4 separate regions of the Homo sapiens genome follow, and regions 1, 2 and 4 are each linked to region 3. Evidence: promoter capture Hi-C in 16 types of primary human blood cells and fetal thymus (Javierre and others, 2016). All regions are on one chromosome and are shown on one strand. The core of a region is centred on a gene start or on the middle of the fragment in contact, and the rest is flanking DNA. Distances in the headings are between cores, read along the strand shown. Region 1 has its middle 39 kb from the start of LINC00908. Region 2 has its middle 15 kb from the start of LINC00683. Region 3 holds the start of ZNF516 (zinc finger protein 516). Region 4 overlaps ZNF516 (zinc finger protein 516).

Region 1 (3,149 bases), core at 8-2,507, 72 kb before region 3:
AACATTCTGGAATGTAGTTTGTTAGGAACAAACCATCTCCTTTCCATGCCTCCCACTCCCCTCCTCATTTGAAAAAGACAGTCATGCGCAGGCAAATACTACTGAACTTTATACTCTGCCAACCAAGAAAGAAAAGTGCTTCACCTATGTATCAATTCCACGAGGTCCGATACTTTTGATATTTCAAATTCAAGCGCAGTGCTTGGAGCCCATGCTAGGTGGAAATTCAGAATGCACTGTGAACCTTATCCTGGGCTCCGGCCCCTGCAATGCAGTTCTTATCCTGTGGGTTGGCCCACCAGTCCCCCAAGAGCTGCATTCAGCGGAGTGAGTGTTTTTCCCTTTTTCAAAGCTCCCAGCCCTAGGAAAGACAGCAGCCACCTTCCCTTCCACTGAGACCCCAGCCACCCCTCTGCACATCCTGGCTAGGTGGTAGACACGTGTCTCTCATCTGCAGGGTGAGATCTGCTCAGGCAGGGGGACCCTCACAGCAAGGATGCTCGAGCCCAGCGCAGTGTGGGGTGCATTGTGGGTTCATCCAGTGGGCTGTCACCACGGGTGCCCCAAGAACTGCATCAAGGGGCCCTTTTAGCTCTGAGGTGGACCTGGGGGCAGGACGGCAGTGTGGTTTTAGAGTCATAATAATATCCACCTTCACGCATCGCTGCCCTGATCCAAGGATCATAGGCCAAACGGTAGGGCATCTGCAGGGGGTGTGTTACTGTCTGTTCCCGACCTGAGTGGCCTCTGCCCCATGTTCTGGAGCTCCTCCCAGGCGAGCCAGGCGCAGAGCACACCTTGGCAGTCATTGCAGGCTGGATGATTTCCCCAATATCTGTGCGTGTGGCCTTCTGTGGAAATAGCATCTTTGCAGATGATCAAGTTAAGATGCGGTCAATAGGGTGGGCCCTAATCCAATATGACTGTGTCCTTATGGAAAGGGAAAATGTGGCTACGGGGACAGACATGCGCATAGGAGGAAGGCCCTGTGAAGATGAAGGCAGGGACCAGGGGATGCTTCCTCACACAAAGGAATGCCCAAGAGTGCCAGCAGCCACCAGAAACTAGGAGAGGCACCTGGAAAGATTCTCCCACCCTGCCCTCGGGAGGAACCCACCTTCGGTCCTTGATCTTGGACCTCTCCTCCCTAGACCTGTGGGGGAATAAATTCCTCTTGTTTAGGACTCGCGCTCTGTGATGCTCTGTTGTGGCAGAGTCTAGGGAAACCAACACAGAAGTGGAAGCTGACCTTCCACCTCTCTATGCACACGGGCGACCTGAGCCGACTGCTGGGCCCTCAGGGGCAAGTGCTGTCCTGTCCACCTCCAGTGAGTACTGCCCAGGGCCACATCCCAAGATGGGCCACAGAAGAGTCACTAGCTGTCTCTCCACCTGCCAGTCATAAAGGTAAGGAGGGGAGGGGAGGGTCAGAGAATGCACCACACCGTCAGGGAGAGAGAGAGACAGAGAGAGAGAGAGACAGAAGGAGAAAGAGACAGAGAAAGAGACAGACGTGGGGGTGGGGAGAGAGACAGAGAGAGGGAGAGAGACAAAGAGATTGGGAGAGACAGAGACAGAAAGAGACAGAGACAGAGACAGTGAGAGAGAGACAGAGAGAAGGAGAGAGAGACAAAGAAAGAGAGACAGAGAGACGGGGGAATGGGGGAGAGAGACAGAAAGAGGGAGAAAGACAGAAAGACAGAAACAAAGAGAAAGACAACGAGAAGCAGAAAGAGGAAGACAGAGAGAGGCATAGAGAGAGAGACAGAGCGAAACAGAGACAAAGAGATACAGAGAGAGAGACAGAGAGAGAGAGACAGGTAGGGGAAGGGAAGAGGGAGGGCTCCTCCTGGTCCCGGTGGCCAATGTGAAGGCCAGAGGGAAGCAGGGAGCCCTCCTGGGCAGCTCCTCAGGAAATAAGGGGAGAGGACAGCCTCTTTCAACAGATGGACCAGTCTTTGGGAGACAAGCTCTCCCCATGGGATGCCATCTCTCTTCTCCACCCTGTGTCTTATGAACGTGGCCTTGGTGCAGGGCCTCCCTCTTCAGACCCAGCAGAAGTGGCATTGCATGCACACCAGTTTGAGTGGCATAGTTAAGTCCCAGTTGACCGAAGTCCCAACCTACACTTAGACTTTCTCAGACCAGTGGCCACCTCCTCCGAAGTCCCCCAGAGAAAGAAACCCCTGCCTTCTGTGCTGGCTTTTAGGAACTCCCAGGATTACCCAGCACTCTCCCCGTCCTCCGGAGAGGTGGGATCCGAGGAAAGGGCGAGCCCAGACACAGCGCCACGTCAGAAAGTCCCGTCATGGCAGGGCGCGGGGGCTCACGCCTGTCATCCCAGCACTTTGGGAGGCCGAGGCGGGCGGATCACAAGGTCAAGAGATTGAGGCCATCCTGGCCAACATGGTGAAACCCCGTCTCTACTAAAAATACAAAAAATTAGCCGGGCCTGGTGGTGGACGCCTGTAGTCCCAGCTACTCGGGAGGCTGAGGCAGGAGAATCACTTGAACCCGGGAGGCGGAGCTTGCAGTGAGCCGAGATCGCGCCACTGCACTCCAGCCTGGGTGACAGAGTGAGACTCTGTCTCAAAAAAACAAACAACAACAACAACAACAACAACAAATCTTTATCTCCCTACTATTCCTAGCTAGAATTGCTCCCTGAATTCCACGGTGTCCAAGCCTAGGGGGCATGTTTCTGTAATGCTCCTGTGGCAATGGATACACAAGTCCCTCTCTGGGCTTGGGCCCTTATTCAGGGTTTGGAATGGATTCTTGTGTAAGATCCAGCCTGATTGCACGGTGCAAGCCACCATCTGGAACAGCGGAAGATGATCGAATCGCATTGCGAAATACAAAACACGAAACTTTTTCCTGTGTTAAAAATACTTTTAAATAATGGAACCAATCTGATAGCATGTTGAGAAAAACTTCACTACCCACAAAAGCTAGGAAGAAAAAGTCACGCTAGGGTTTCTTCCTTTTGCCTGAGTTGCATTTTTTCCAGTTTTAGAACATCATTACCTTTGCAAACAAGGATTTTGCTATAAAAGCATTCTCACGTATATTTGCCTTTTTGTAGGTACTGATGTCACCTTGAGCCAAAGGAAAACAACGAGCCATAAATCAGTGTATGAATGAGCAAA
Region 2 (3,129 bases), core at 288-2,787, 110 kb before region 3:
TCATGGATGTAAGTAATAGGAAGCAGTTCAAGTAAAGTGGACAACAATTTTGATTTTGTTTTACTTTTATGTTGTTGTCTGTTTAAAGCAGAGCATTGTTTAGATTTTTAGTAATAGATAAAAGGAGAAAACAAGATGGCTAATTATAAACTCTTCTTAAGTTTTTTAGTCCCTTTAAGACAAGAATCTCCGAATCCTAATACTTCAGAAATGGTTACAGTAGGAATGGACGACAAGATGAATGGATGATTACAAGGATAATGAATGAATGGATGGATAGGAGAATAGATGAATGGATGGATGGACGGATAGAATAGATGGATTGATAGAGTAATAGATTGATGAATGATAAATAGAAGAATGGATGGATGGATGAGTGAATGGATAGAAGGTGGAATGGATGGATGGATGGATGGACTAGATTGATGGATAGATTAATAGAAGAATGGATGGATGGATGGATGAATGTATAGTAGAATAGGTGAATGGGTGGATGGATAGAATAGATGGATCGATAGAGTAATAGATTGATGGATGATAAACAGAAGAATAGATGGATGGGTGGATGGATAGAAGGAGGGATGGATGGATGGATGAATGGATGGATAGACTAGACTGATGGATGGATTAATAGAAGAATAGATGGATGGATGAATGTATAGTAGAACAGGTGAATGGATGGATGGATAGAAGAATAGATAGACGGATCAAGGGATGGATGGATGGATGGATGGATGGATGGATGGATGGATTGATGGACGGATGACTGGAAGAATAGGTAGATGATGAAGGGCAGGAGGGAAGGCTGAACAGTGACAGATTAGAAGACAGTGAAACTCATATGACTTGTTTGACTTAGCGGCGTCTTTAAAATGGAACGGAAATTTACACTGAATCTAGTTATGAAAGTAGTGTTAATGTACTTAGCAATACTTCTTAAAGCATGACCTACACAGTACATAGGTTTAAAAAAGATATTGGGAAGCTTGTCGAAAATGCAGACTCCTAGGCTCCTCCTTAGATCTTCTAACTTTGAATCATTAAGGCGGGGTCCCAGGAATGCATGTTTTTACAAGCTCTCTATGCATCCCGAAGCTGAAAATTACTCACAGTGTTACAAAATCAAGGAAATAAGGCATCTTGTTTGTTATGTTTTTCAATTTCTATGCCTGTGGAATCACTAAGAGGAGAAAATAAGGGAAAAAGAAGTCTGTCAGTGGGGATGACACCATATAAACATGGAGTAAAAACAAACAAGACTCGGACCGGTTACCTGAGGATAGAGTGAACAAACCACTTCTACTACAGCACAGGGACTGTGCCTCTCAGCCTAAAGATACTTCTGTGCAATCATTTCAGGATTATATTAGTAATGTCTGACATCTCTATATGGGGTAATAGTGAATAATTTTATTAAATGATGCTTTCTTTGACATAAAATGCATCTTGGACATTTTAATACAATATGAATGGAAATTACACAGGAATATCACAGCCTGTCCCATCAGTAACACCATAACGTAGCTGGGAAGAGGGCAGTTAATTCTTATGTAGCAGGGCATGCATATCATACATGGGAAATGTATCTCAGTGCAAACGCCTCGGGGCTTAGCACATTTTGTGCATTTAAATAAAAAAAGGCATAGGTGTATGTTCAGTATAAATCACTGGAATTACAGTGTGACTTATGGACTCGGTGCATTTCCGAAATAGAGTCCCTGAAGCTAATGACTTTAATTTAACACCAGCCTGTGTGATTCAAGCTGTAGTTTAAATATTTATCCTGAAACATTCATGGATGCACAATACATGCATTAACTCTGGGTCATTCTCCATGAGACGAGCGCGGGGACAGGAATGCATTTATTAAACCCCCGTATCGGCATCGTTTTCATTTCCTTTCTTGCTGGATCTAAACGGCAGCTGGGTCCCACCCTGCTGAAATATCATGTCAATGGTGACAATATAGAGGGTCAGATATTATTTCATTATGTAATGTTGCTGGAGATCACAAGGCACGTATCCATTTTGAAAATGGGATGCTGCTTCTCAGAGCCTGTTATGAAACAGACTTCACACTGAAGCTTTTAAAAGATTAGAAGATAGGTGCATTGGAAGCAGAAGATATTCTATGCAGTATTCCAACCCAAACGCCCAACGCGCAGGGCAGTAAAAGACATTTCATCTCTCTGAATCTCTCAAGCTGTCCTCATATTTCAAATGCATAGTAATTTATTTGGGGGCAATTAACTGTGTCTGTTTCTCTGTTTGGAAAACAGCAGTAATACCTATTTCCAAGACCAGTTAATATTTACTGGGTGTAGCTGGCTGCTGCAACCGTATCCCTCGTCCATGCTAGTTGGTTGATACCCAGTGGATTGTTAAATATTTTTAGTATCACTCCTGCCTATCTCAAACTATTGTTTAAATCAAATGAAATCATGATCATCATCATTTATTGAACAGGCATTGTTCAATAAATTGGAAAACTTATAAACTAAGTCCTTCAATGATATTACCGTATCTAGTTAACCCAATTTTGGAGATAAGCAAATGGGACCCAGGAGCCCTCCTCCTGAGCAGGAGCATGGGCCAGAGCCTGGGATTGCCACCCCGGCACTCACGCTGTGCCTCCTCATGTCACCCACCACCTTTGAAGTCCTCAAAAATTTCCCGGCCCATAAGTTAGTTTTCTTCTTCGAATATCTAGGTCAAAGATATTCTCCATGTCTGGACACTCTCTTTAACTTTCTCTAACTCTGAATGGTTAGCACAAAAGGCCTGTCAGCCAGGCGTCATTCCTGTGACAATGGTTTGATTAGGATTTTTCCATTTGATGATGGTGTGAAAGTGGAACCTATTCAGCAGTCTCTACTTCGAGCACCCATAGGACCATTCCGTTTTTCACTGAGTACAGTCAATCAATTTCATGAGATATTCACCACTTTATTATAAGACAGGCTTTGTGTTAGAGCCTTTGCCCAGCTGTAGGCTAGTGTGAATGTCCTGAGCACGCGTAAGGTAGGCTCGGCTCAGCTACGATGTTCGGTACGTTAGGAATAGTAAATGCATTGTTGACTTACTGTATTTTCAATTTATAATGTGTTTCTTGGGATGTAACCCCATCAG
Region 3 (3,405 bases), core at 101-2,600:
CCGACCCCGACACACACTCCCCACCGCCCCCAGAAACATCACACATGCAGAATGCCCCCCCCGTCTGATCGCCAGCTTTCGGGCACATGCGCCTCCCTTTGCAGCGCGTCTGGAGTAGTTTCTTTTGTAAACGCCCTAAGTTGGGGAGGGCCGCGGGCTGCGAGTGTGAGGCGCAGAGAGAGACGCCGCCGCTGAGGTAACCGCCAGGATTGCAGCGCTGATTGCTACGCGGAGCCACGTTGGGCGTCTTGGACGGAATCCACCTCCACTGCGGAGTTATCACGAGGAGAAGGAGAACAATACGGCCAGGAGCCTGGTGGGAGAAGATAGTGTTACCCCTCCGCAGGCCGCAGCTCCCCGGGTCTACGTCACCGGCCGTGAAGGGGCGCTCGCCCTCGCTAGCTCCGACCCGCCCCTCCCCCGCCCCCGCGCGCCCGCCCTCCCCTCCCCCACCCCGGCCATCCCTGCCCTGTAACAGGAGAGCGTTTTGGAGTCAAATTAGGATTTCTAGTCCCAGACTCAACTTATTACAACTAACTACTGCTCGTGGGGAGTAGGTGAGGTGAAGAAATGAAGTTTTAAGAACAGAAAAATAAGAGTTGAACTTTCGAGGCTACCGGTAAACAACCCCTTCATTTTTAAATGGCCGGGTGGCAGAGCCGCTGTTTGAAGTCTTTCCAGCGGGACCTCTGTGACCCTTGATTCAGGACTTAATGTATTGATCCTGCATCTGAACACCCCCAGAGGCATTTACCAGGAAGTTGAGTGACACGCACACGCTACGCCGTGTGTAATGCACACGCACCTGGGACCCCCGAAGGGGTGTCCCCATTTCAGTCCAGATGGGGCGCAGTGCCCAGGTACCCGCCGGCGGGACCCGCATCCCGAGCACGTCTGTACGTATGGATGCGCGTGTGCGCGCGGAAACGGCCTCCGGGAGCCGGGGCTGCAGCAGCCTTAGACCTTGACGAGGGGCGACCACTGGCCGCTGGAACCGTGATTCAGTGCTATTAGGGGAGGAATTGGCTGTGTCTGAGTCACTGCAAGCCTCCAGACTGTCCCCTCAGTGTGGCAGAACTTTGTGCTGATGAGACAATAGTGGAGTGTGCGTTTCCTACAGGGCAGACCATTTCCAGGCTGGGGGAAGCCTCCGGCCTGCGCCGGGCCGTGAGCGCCCGGCCCCCTCCCCGTGCCGCGCAGCCCCCCGAGCCCGGCTCGCGCCGGGGCCCCCGCGGGGCGGACGCGTCCGGGGCGCGCGCGGGCGGCGCGAGGAGGGGGCCGGGCGCGTGGCGGGCCCCGCGCGCCCTCGCGCGTCCCCCGCGCCCGGGCGCAGCTGGCGCGGTCGGTCTAGTGCAGCGCTCGGCTCCGCGCCGCGGGCGCTCGGCTTCACCTTCAGATGCGCGGGGCGTGCGCGTCCTCCTCCCCAGGCCCGCCGCCTCCCTGCCAAGGTAGGGGCCGCGGGCGGGGGGAGGGCTGCGCCGCAGGGGCCGCGGGCGGGCGGTGGGCGCGGGGCCCGGAGCCCCGACGTGCCCCGTACTCTGGTGTGCGCCGCTGGGGGTAGGGGGGGAGGCGCTGGGGAGGGGGGTGCGCCGGGGAGGGGCCCCCCGGGCGCGGGGAGGGCTACTTGGCTTTCCCGGTGGGTAGTTGCTCTGCTCGTCAATTCCAGGATAGGGGAAGATGCAACTTCGGGCGGCGGGGCGAGCGCCCGGGAGGTGGTTTTTACCGCAGTGGAGGGGCGGGGTGGGGGCCGGGGTGGGAGCGCGGAAGAGGCTCTGGCTTTGTACACTTTGTCAAAGGCGACGCGGGAGGAGGGGAGCTCGGATGCGCTCTCCATCCATTAGGAGACAAAGAGCAAATTGCCTTACTTTAAAGTAAAACGCTCCGGCTAATGAAGGTGGGTGATGGGGCTGCGGGCCCGAGGAGCCGCTTCAATTATTAAGGGTTTGGCGGATGGGATCGATGCCTGTGGGCACCGCGCGCTGCTGCCTAGGGGACGTGTTTGCGTGGAGGTGGGGGTGGCCTTGTTTTTTACGGCCCCCTCCCCGGCTGCTTGCCAGTCTGCTGGGAGCTTCTAAGTGACCCTAACGTTAAAGAAGTGAGAGGTCCTGGAAGGGAAGTTCGGGCGGGGGTGGGGGTGGGGGCGAGGGTCTGGCACCGACTCGGAGAGGGGTGGGCAGGGACTCCTCGGAGCTGCGCCCCGCCGGGTGCGGGTGGGGGAGGCCTCGGTGGCGAGATGAACCCGGGTGTATGAAGGAAGAATGCGGTGGGGTGTGTGTGGTTGGGCGGGAGGTGGGGGGAGGCGCCTCCGCTGCCATTTCCAGGGAGAACTAACAGACTGAATAGTTACGATCAGTATTTAGATTAAACCGCCTCAAGTTTTAACGAAACTTTGTATGAATAAGTTTGTTAAATGGCAGCCGAGTGGGGTATTTAAAAGCAGCAGTTTATGTGTGTGGTGAGGAAAGCCAGTGGACCCCCGCAATTAGGGACCAGAGGGAACCAGCCTTTTACCCGAAAAATGTGGGTCTGTAAGTCAGCCTCATCTATTATCAGCGTTAATAAGCTTCCCGCAGCAGACCGGGAGCTCTGGGGGCTGTGTGTGTGTCTTACTCATTCCGCTGATAAAGAGTCACCGGGTCTCCGGGTGTGCAAAGATCAACTTGCGCAGCCCTCTTTTTAAATATATTCATTCTGTGCTTTATTTAATCCAGATGCACAAAAAGCCATTTGCTGCTGCATTGTTGGTTTACATTTTTTGAAAAGGCGACTGGTGTAACCTGTGGAATTTGAAATGCAAATAAGAGCCTGTGGGAGTAGAGGCAGAACAGATCAGCATTTATAAAGTGGAAAAGATTTAATGTCTTTGAAATCATTGCAGGGGAAGAAACTGGAGGGGGAGTGTGATTTTTCAGGGAGTGAATTGTGACGTCAGGTCTTTTTGGAAAAGATGTTATTTTTAAGGTCTGAAACCCGGCTAGGTAAAGTGCTTACAGGAAAAACAGATTACAAGATTAACATCTGTTAACATGATCGTTTATCTCCAGCCAAAAATAGGTCAGTTCTTTCTTAAGGAAACACGATTGCTGGCGCATGCTTAAATAATAAAATCAAAACGGCGAGTTCATAAATTAGGAACGAGTGTTTGTTACAATCTGACCTGTGAAGAAACGTTTTTGAATTTCGAGATCAATGGAAGGTCAAAGTCCCTTTTCGGTGTAGAGAGCAACTCTTTCCCCTGCGTCGGCCCCCGCCCCCCCCCCCGCCCCCCGCGGAATGACCCCTCCTTCTTTCTCGGAGCTCCCTTTCCGCCTCCACTCCCTTCGTGAATTTCCCTTTCCATCCTTTGTGGAAGTACAAAATATATTTAAATGGATATCGTCTGACGCCTCCCTCCTTAAAGAAGGC
Region 4 (3,346 bases), core at 86-2,585, 72 kb after region 3:
CCTTTCACCTGCGTGTGGGTGTTTCAGGGGTGAAGCCTTTTTACCTGTGTGTGTTTCGGGGGAGCCTTTTCACCTGCATGTGTTTCGGGGGAGCCTTTTCACCTGCATGTGTGTTTCAGGAGGGAGCCTTTTCACGTGCGTGTGTTTCGGGGGAACCTTTTCACCTGAGTGTGTGTTTCGGGGGAGCCTTTTCACCTGCATGTGTTTCATGGGGTAACCTTTTCACCTGCGTGTGTTTCATGGGGGAAACTTTTCACCTGCGTGTGTTTCGGGGGAGCCTTTTCACCTGCGTGTGTATGTTTCAGGAGGGAGCCTTTTCACCTGCGTGTGTTTCGGGGGGGACCCTTTCACCTGCGTGTGGGTGTTTCAGGGGTGAAGCCTTTTTACCTGTGTGTGTTTCGGGGGAGCCTTTTCACCTGCGTGTGTTTCGGGGGAGCCTTTTCACCTGCATGTGTGTTTCAGGAGGGAGCCTTTTCACCTGCGTGTGTTTCGGGGGAACCTTTTCACCTGCGTGTGTGTTTTGGGGGAGCCTTTTCACCTGCATGTGTTTCATGGGGGAACCTTTTCACCTGCGTGTGTTTCATGGGGGAACCTTTTCACCTGCGTGTGTTTCGGGGGAGCCTTTTCACCTGCGTGTGTATGTTTCAGGAGGGAGCCTTTTCACCTGCGTGTGTTTCGGGGGAGCCTTTTCACCTGCGTGTGTATGTTTCAGGAGGGAGCCTTTTCACCTGCGTGTGTTTCGGGGGGACCCTTTCACCTGCGTGTGGGTGTTTCAGGGGTGAAGCCTTTTTACCTGTGTGTGTTTCGGGGGAGCCTTTTCACCTGCGTGTGTTTCGGGGAAGCCTTTTCACCTGCGTGTGTTTCGGGGGAACCTTTTCACTGGCATGTGTGTGTTTCAGGGGGGAACCTTTTCGCCTGCATGTGTGTGTTTCAGGAGGAACCTTTTCACCTGCGTGTGTTTCAGGGATGAGCCTTATCTCCTGCCAGCATATGTTTTGTCACGTCTTGTTGCTTAAATGGTGTTTGAGGCAAGGTACTGTCAGTTCACATTGCGGACTTATTAACGAGAACACGCAAGAAGGGCTTTGTGTTGTTTCTCTCCACACAGGAACTTCATGAACCCTAGCATTTGATCTGTGCAGCTTTTCCTTTCCTAGCTTGTAAAACTTGTGGCTGTTTTCCTTTTGGGAACATATATGCATCCCTTCCCTTGTAAAGAATGCGTGTAAATTGTGTTGTGGACATCCGTTTTAATGGGTCTCTGTTAGATTGTGCTGCCAGCTGCAGAGTGCTTGAATCCTGGGGTCTCCGAGTGTTCCAGGTGAGAGTCCTGCGGTGTGCACAGCCCAGGGTCTCCATGCAAACTCCAGGTGGCCAGACGCATTAAGATTTAGAGTTGCGGAGCTCAGTGTGATATTGAGAGTACATCTTGTCTTCCTTTATCAGGTAAAAATGAACCGGTGACAGAAATAAATTATCTTTGCTTTTCTTAAGGATTTGTATGGAGGAGAATTAATTTAGGTGGTTTTTCTTATCTATTCCAGTTTGTCATTGTTTACGATTGGAGATTTCTTTCTAACCTGTTCTGCCCACAATATATGCAGTTTCTGCTTGTCCTATCCTCCAGATATATGGAATTCATATCTTCTCCTCCCATGCCTCCCCAGTGCCCCATGTCTGCCCCCCATCATCCCGTCCCTGCTTCTTGCCCCTTGGCTGGAGCCCTCCATTTATTTGCTCTGTGCTAGGGTATGTCTGCTTCATAACCCCTTTCTGTTTAAGTGGTGGTTTCTGGGTATCTTTTAATTCTCTATCTCTCCATAAATACAGAGTCCTACTTCTCTTATAGCCTTAGAACTGCCTCATAATTAGTCGATTTAATTCTGAGGTTGTGCTTGTTGTTTTAACTGTCTTTTGACCTATATTTCTGAATCCTACATTTAGCTTCCGGAAAGTTAGGGCAGTCACGTGTTTGCAGGTGCAGCTCTGCTCCATAGCCTGAGTGTATGAGTACATGGTCATCATCCGTCAGGCCCCTGGAGACCGTGGTCTGCTTCTTACTGCCGCAGTGCAGGGAGTGCCGAGGGACCGGCCCGCTCTCCGCAGGCTCTTCTGCGTGGCTGTGGCAGGAGCTGTCTCCTGGTTTGCTGGGTCAGGGCCCTTTCCAGGAACAGTTTACTGTGTCTTATTTAGTGCTTGTCCTCCACATCTCTAGCTGATGGTAGTGTCTTCCTGAATTCTAGGCAACTCTACCAAATTCCAATTGGGTGATACTAGCATAGATACCCTGGCTGAATTTTTCTGGGATTTACCTTCACTTGCTCATGTAGCCATGGAGATATTTAAAATAACGATAATACTCACTGGTAGTCTGGTGCATTATTTAATTTCTAAGATTAAAAACAAAAAACAAAACAAAACAAAACACTTGCCTTAAAATGGCCAGAGTCATACAGTTTGATCCATGTGTGAGGCAGAGAAATTCCTGATGACTTGGGCACCAGACCCGGCCCGCTGTGTGATTCAGATCTGTGGAAACTTTTTCAGAAACTTGTCTTTGCTTTGAAAATACTTATGTTGTGGCACTTTGTACACTTTCTTACTGTAGGTAAAATCAAAGAAATGTGAGGTGTTGGCAAAACATAGGTGATACTTAGTGTAAAGTAGTGCCCTCTGTAATAGTGAAACATGAGGTTTATTTTGGGATGTTGTTCACCCATAGGACCTGCTCCCTGTGGCTTGGATGTTTTGAAAAGACTCCAGGAACTTAGTGTGGAATTCTTATGCCCCATTTCCCCTTCAAGCAAACCCTTGAGTTGTCTAGCAGGTTCTGTGGAGAGCAGGGGGAGGGACCCGGTGGCAGCTTTGCAAACACAGAACTCACGGGGGCTCAGCCCGGGCTCTGCTTTCCAGCTCTGAGACAAAGTCTGGCCTCACGGACTGGACCAGGATACCAGTTAGGACGTGGGACTTGTTCCTTAAAGCTCGAAGCCCTGGAGCAACTGCCAGCACAGCGTCTCCATCACCTAAGGCCTAGCCCGCCATACCTCTGGCAGCCAGGACAGCAGCCTCGGAGCCTCAGCTGCCCTGCTCCTCTTGGGAGGTTTATGACTTCTGAACTTGACTTCACACCCTGTCTCTAGAGCCCTTTTCCAATATGCACCAGCCTAAACGCAGAATGACTTCCTAAGTGTAATTCATCTTGCTTTGTAAACGTGTCAGTAGTTGACCCTGAACATACATATTGTGCATAAGAGTGGTGTTTGGGATGCATGTTGATCTTTGAGCAGGAGGCGCACACTGCATTCTAGGGCAGGAGCTGTTAGAAATTGTCCACGCCCAGGTG

Evidence for each region. Contacts are between HindIII fragments. The CHiCAGO score rates a contact against its expected background, and 5 or more counts as called.
Region 1: a contact is called between a fragment that was not itself captured here and the fragment with the promoter of ZNF516 in region 3, in 5 of 17 cell types (monocytes, M0 macrophages, neutrophils and 2 more). The highest score is 20.3, in monocytes.
Region 2: a fragment that was not itself captured here is called in contact with the fragment with the promoter of ZNF516 in region 3 in 3 of 17 cell types (monocytes, neutrophils and M0 macrophages); the score reaches 11.1 in monocytes.
Region 4: a contact is called between a fragment that was not itself captured here and the fragment with the promoter of ZNF516 in region 3, in 2 of 17 cell types (neutrophils and monocytes). The highest score is 5.8, in neutrophils.

The regions. Positions count from the first base shown.
Region 1 is chr18:76,565,642-76,568,790 of GRCh38, reverse strand. No RefSeq gene overlaps it. Among named protein-coding and RNA genes, the nearest start is that of LINC00908, 39 kb to the right of the region's middle. The HindIII fragment of the contact is 5,091 bases long and covers 1-3,149 here.
Region 2 is chr18:76,602,994-76,606,122 of GRCh38, reverse strand. No RefSeq gene overlaps it. Among named protein-coding and RNA genes, the nearest start is that of LINC00683, 15 kb to the left of the region's middle. The HindIII fragment of the contact is 1,099 bases long and covers 988-2,086 here.
Region 3 is chr18:76,493,187-76,496,591 of GRCh38, reverse strand. ZNF516 (zinc finger protein 516) reads left to right here and starts at 1,350. Exons shown (of 7, transcript NM_014643.4): 1 at 1,350-1,448. It overlaps ZNF516-DT (ZNF516 divergent transcript), which reads right to left and starts at 1,253. Exons shown (of 2, transcript NR_164145.1): 1 at 806-1,253; 2 at 1-313. ZNF516-AS1 (ZNF516 antisense RNA 1) reads right to left here. Exons shown (of 2, transcript NR_136504.1): 2 at 2,674-3,405. RefSeq lists silencers at 1,241-1,300, 1,431-1,530, 2,231-2,320. The HindIII fragment of the contact is 7,170 bases long and covers 1-2,565 here.
Region 4 is chr18:76,421,035-76,424,380 of GRCh38, reverse strand. All of the region lies in intron 3 of ZNF516 (zinc finger protein 516), which reads left to right. Among named protein-coding and RNA genes, the nearest start is that of ZNF516-AS1, 69 kb to the left of the region's middle. RefSeq lists an enhancer at 635-1,136. The HindIII fragment of the contact is 5,680 bases long and covers 1-3,346 here.